2 separate regions of the Homo sapiens genome follow, and region 2 is linked to region 1. Evidence: promoter capture Hi-C in 16 types of primary human blood cells and fetal thymus (Javierre and others, 2016). All regions are on one chromosome and are shown on one strand. Each heading gives the region's core, a stretch centred on a gene start or on the middle of the fragment in contact. The rest is flanking DNA. Distances are from core to core; before and after follow the strand shown.

Region 1 (2,700 bases), core at 168-2,667:
TTCTTCAAGGATGATGGGACCTAGTAGTCCCATTTATCTGTGAGACACAGTTGAGAGCCAAAGGATTTAGGAAGAGAAACAACTCTTATACCAGTCGCATGGGCATTTCCATCATAGAAAATTAGGAATAGTATGCATTGTTGCTGTCTCCAAAGCCCCTTGAAGTCTTATAAAAGTCATACTATGAAGCTTAAGCTCCCAGAAAACCAATTGCTCTTACTCCCTAGGTGATGGGCGCTACTCCCTTTTGGGCCAGCCATTACAGTACAATCTGTCCATCTGCCCTCCCTTGCTCCATGGCCAGTCAACTTACACGGTGCACCAGGTAAGGGTGTCCACCAGCAACTGTAGGGCCATCAGACCCCTCTTCTTATTTGGGTGCCTGTGTCTGAGCTTCAACCAGCTGGGTATACAAGGGAAATAACACAGAATGAACAAAGCAGGAGCCTTGCCCTACCTCCTATACTCATGTCTCCCACCCGACCCCCATGCCAAGAGGGAGGGGCTCTTTGTTTCTCAGTCGCTGCTCCATGGCCAACCTGACTGCCTAGTGGGGTGGGGTCCTCTGGGTTGGTGCTACTCCACAATCTCTCAGGCAGACATTCTGATGCAAGGCAGTCAATGTTGTTTACATGGGATGAGAGTCGTCTTTCAAATGTTGAAGGGACAGAGTGGACTGAAGCATGGAAACCGGGGCAAGAGACAAGCACTCAAATCTGCCTCCACTGACCTGGGGACAGCAGATGTTGGTGAGTCACGGGATGCTGAATCCCCAAGAGAAGGTGCCCACCCTTCCAGCGCTTAATTACCAGTCCAGCATGGGTGGGAAAAGCCAGCTTAGGATGGGGAGTGGAAGTGGGACCCTTTGTGCTCAAAAGCAAGCAGAAACTGGAGAAGTGAAGTATCTCAGTCCTCCCTACCAAGCCATCTCAGATTCTGAGGAAGATCATGGTAAAAAGTGGGAATAACACAATTATGGGAGTTGCCTCTTATTAACAAAGAGTTTTCTAATTAGTGTCCTGTCCCTAATCTACGACATCTACCTTTGGTAGTCCTAGACCCAGTTTAGGAGAAGATTGGTAGAGAATATGGGGGAGAAACTCTCGTCCTACAAGCCTCCCACTAGGTGAACAAGATCTGTCTTGGGATTTGGAGCAATTTCCTAAACAAGGAAAGGAAGGGAAACTTGACTTCCTGAGATGATAAGAAGGAAGAATCTATTTGAGCCAGCCTCTGAGTGGGAAGGGAACTATGGAACATATTTCAGATTGATACATTATTGTTAAAGAACATTAGCAAAAGCCACATTTTCTTCATAGCAGTAGCACCTTGTGAGAGAACTGAGGTATAGGTTCTTAGCTCAGAAACCCAGGATTCTGATTCCCTGTCCCTTCTTTCCTGTATCTCTGGGCTAGGAGAATAGAAAGGTTCATTTGTTTTTCTCCTAGTTGCCCTGATCAGAGCTGGGATGGTGGGGAGGGGAAGAAAGGGCTAAGAGAGAAAGGCCAGGCTTTTGAAGACATTGTATACAGACTTAGTCAGCTGGACACTTCTCTGCTGGGCTGCTGTCAAGTCCTTCCTGTCCTATTCCTCTCACAACCATGTCCTCTCTCCTCCCCTTCCAGTCCTGGGGCGGGTGCTGGAGGTGACAGATCTCCCTGAGGGCATCACCCGTACTGAGGCGGACAAACTCTTCACGCAGCTCGCCATGTCTGGCGCCAAGATCCAGTGGCTCAAGGATGCTCAGGGGCTGCCTGGAGGGGGTGGGGGGGACAACAGTGGGACTGCTGAGAATGGCCGCCACTCGGACCTCGCTGCCTTGTACACCATTGTGGCTGTGTTCCCCAGCCCCCTGGCTGCCCAAAATGCCTCCCTTCGTCTCAACAACTCCGTGAGTCGCTTCAAACTTCGAATGGCCAAAAAGAACTATGACCTGAGGATCCTGGAGCGAGCCAGCTCCCAATAAATGGAGGAGGGGAAAGGGACTGTCACAGAAGGAGCAAGGGCAGGGTGGAGGGGGTTGAAGGATCCTGACAGACCATGGACAGAGGCAGGAAGTAAGGAAACTGATGTTAAACTGGAACCTAAGACAGTGATGAAGATGGAAACACAGATACCTACACTGGCATTGGACTCCTTCTTGCTCCCCTGCCATGGGTCCTCTCTTTTTCCCTGGTTGACCCCCCTTGCATCACTCTTCTTCCCATCCTCTTCTTTTTTTTTTTTTTTTTTTTTTTGAGACGGAGTTTCGCTCTTGTCACCCCAGCTGGAGTGCAGTAGCACGATCTTGGCTAACTGCAACCTCCAGCTCCTGGGTTCAGGTGATTCTCCTGCCTCAGCCTCCCAAGTAGCTGGCACTACAGACACGCGCCACCATGCCCGGCTAATTTTTGTATTTTTAGTAGAGACGGAGTTTCACCATGTTGGCCAGGCTGGCCTCAAACTCCTGACCTCAGGTGATCCACCTGCCTTGGCCTTCCAGAGTGCTGGGATTACAGGCGTGAGCCACTGTGCCTGGCTTCCATCCTCTTCTATCATTTTTTTAAATCTCTTCTCCTATCATAAAATTAATTTCTCATTTTTTGGTCAGGTAGAATTGGGAAAGTCCCACACTGTCCTCCTATTACCTTAACATCCCAAGCTTCCTTTCCTTTTTTGGTCTTTATGAATATATTTATATGGACAGAATTAAGATAAACA
Region 2 (2,700 bases), core at 98-2,597, 290 kb before region 1:
GGTCCCCAGGGGCTCCAAGGTGGCATCTTTAGTAAAGGGGTTTCAAAATGCCAGTCCATGGAGGGTCACTGGTCAGAGACAAAAGTTCACTGAGTATGCCCTCACCTCCAAAAGAACAATGGTGAGTTTTTTTTTAATATAAAGATGGATTTGATAAGTTTCAAAGGACTATCTTTTATTCTGAGTGTGTCCTTCTTGCTTTTCTACCAAGTAATGATGGTGACAGTAAATAATAGGTTTTCTATTTGTAATATACTTACTTGATAAAATAAAAAGGCAAATCTTCAAGGTTTGTAGTTGTTTTAATTTTATTGAACGATGAAATTTAAAAGTCTGAGAACGGAAGGTAAGGTTGGTGAATAGGTACAAAAAATTAGAAAGTATAATAAGACCTACTATTTGATGGCACAATAGGGTGACTATAGTCAAGAATAACTCAACTGTACATTTTAAAATAACTTAAAGAGTAATTGGATTATTTGTAACTTAAAGGATAAATGCTTGAGAGGATGGATACCCTCTTCTCCATGATGTGCTTATTTCACATTGCATGCCTGTATCAAAATATCTCATGTGTCCCATAAATACATACACCTACTGTGTACCCACAAAATTGAAAAAATTGAAAAATAAATAAAAGTCTGAGAACTATTAACGAAGTAGTTAAGAGCCCAGAGAGTGTTCAGACAGACATGGAGACACCACTTACCTACTTATGAACTTCAGATAGAATTGCCAGATTTGAAAAACAAAAAACAAAAACAGGATGCCCAGTTAAATGTGAATTTCAGATACTTAATTTTTGGGGGGTTAGTATACCCACACACCACACACCACACACACACACCTACTTATTATCTGAAATTCAAATTATCTGAAAGCCCTTACTTGAGAAGATTGCCTAACTTTTTCATTCCTAACATACACTACGCGTTTACTAAATTTTACTTCTTGTTTTTATTTTGTTTTTATAATACACAGTATCAAGCAAACTTCTTGTTTTTGAAACCCCGGCTGTGTCACAGTATGACTACCTGTATCATTTAATCTAGTCATTTTATTCCTGGGAGCCCCAAACAGGAATTATAAATGTTCTTTCACTGACTTGCTGTAAAAGTGAGAGAAAAGGCTGTATGAAATAGCTCCCCAAGGTTCGTTATTGTCGCTCCCCGCCCAAGCTCCAGTACACCAAAACTACACATCCCACAATCCTAGGCGGCGTCCCCTGGCCATTACCTCATTCCCTGGCCTCGTTCTCCCCAATCCCGGCCTCTCCAGGGGTGTGGCAGCAGGGCTGTTCTCGCGACTTTTGCTTTACCCTTCTGCTGTGCTACTGCTGTCGCGAGACTTCCTGCTCATCTGCCGCTCCCTTTGCCGCCGCCTTAGCCCGGGACCCGAACCCAGCCTCTCCCCTACCCGAACACCGGCCCCGGCTCCACCGAGGCCCGGGTCCCCCAGCCCGTCTCGCCGCCGCCATGGCGGACCCTAAATACGCCGACCTTCCCGGCATTGTGAGTACAGGACCGGCCCCGGCTCCCCAGGACCGCGCCCCCGACCTCCCAAGGACCCCCAGCAGAAACCAGCCCGCGACCCCTCCCGCCTGCAGCCCATCCTCCGCCCAAGGGCTCCCGCCGCTCGTTCTCCGATCGGCCTCAGCACCCCCCGAACTCTTCTGACCCGACTGGGCCGGGCCGCCGGACGGCGCACCAGGCCCCCTTTCCGGCAGTCGCCGGTAGCTCGGCCCAGAAATCGACTCCGGGTACTGACCTCTTGTGCCTGAGTTTTTCCACCATCCGTGTCAACGCCTCCCATGTCCCCCCCAAATCTCTCCATAAGACCCCATCGCTACCCCAGACACACACACCAGACCACTTAACGATGGCCTTCATCCTGCCAAGGAAGAGGTTCTGCCATCTGGCAGAACCCTCTTGTGCCAGATGGGGAGCTCTATCCTTGAGGGAACCTATGCCCTCCCCCAGCCCCCACTCCCATGACAATCCTGGCGTGTACCTTCCTTTTGTGCTGCCCTGCCTGCTTCTCAAGGTGAGGGTTGGGACACAGGACCTTGAGTACTAAGGTCCTGAGTCACTCTCAATCCTTGTGCCAGGGTGGTGGTGTACGGGGCCTAATTGGAGGATAGCCTTCACCTTCTTTGGCAATAGTGATTGCCAAGGACCTGCCCGCCTCTAGATTTAGGGTAACATCGTTGCTATCACTTACACTCACCGTTTACTGTCAGGTCCCAATTGTTTCCGCTGTCATCCCTACCCCTTGAGACATGGGAACTGACATACTGTTGACTCACGGGGCAGGTGGAGGAGAAAGGACAGAACCCTGACATCACACCCCGCCTTCTCTGTTAGCTTATTCAAATGGAGTGGGGGAAGGGGTGTTGTTGGATGCTGGGTAGTGAGGTTGGGTGGTCACTGCTTCTACCTGCAGGCCAGGAATGAGCCAGATGTTTATGAAACTAGCGACCTACCTGAGGATGATCAAGCGGAGTTCGATGCGGTAAGAATGTGTGCTGCCACAGACTCCTCCGGACTCTGACCTTTCTCCCCTAGACAGGTCCTTCCCTTTCTCGGGGGAGCTACAGCAATAAGCGGGTATGCCAACCCCAGCCTGGGTGGTATATAGGTTGCAGGGCTTGCAAAGACCTTGCTGGGCTTGCAGCCACCAATGAGCAATGGCAGGAGGGAG

The links. Contacts are between HindIII fragments. The CHiCAGO score rates a contact against its expected background, and 5 or more counts as called.
Region 2: a contact is called between the fragment with the promoter of DCTN2 here and a fragment that was not itself captured in region 1, in 1 of 17 cell types (neutrophils). The highest score is 5.2, in neutrophils.

Annotation. Positions count from the first base shown.
Region 1 is chr12:57,254,039-57,256,738 of GRCh38, reverse strand. R3HDM2 (R3H domain containing 2) reads left to right here. Exons shown (of 24, transcript NM_001394031.1): 22 at 228-325; 23 at 665-749; 24 at 1,626-2,700. The coding sequence ends at 1,966. Among named protein-coding and RNA genes, the nearest start is that of STAC3, 4.2 kb to the right of the region's middle. The HindIII fragment of the contact is 2,452 bases long and covers 192-2,643 here.
Region 2 is chr12:57,545,839-57,548,538 of GRCh38, reverse strand. It overlaps DCTN2 (dynactin subunit 2), which reads left to right and starts at 1,347. Exons shown (of 14, transcript NM_001261413.2): 1 at 1,347-1,511; 2 at 2,443-2,511. The coding sequence starts at 1,476. RefSeq lists an enhancer at 1,079-1,218. The HindIII fragment of the contact is 9,827 bases long and covers 1-2,700 here.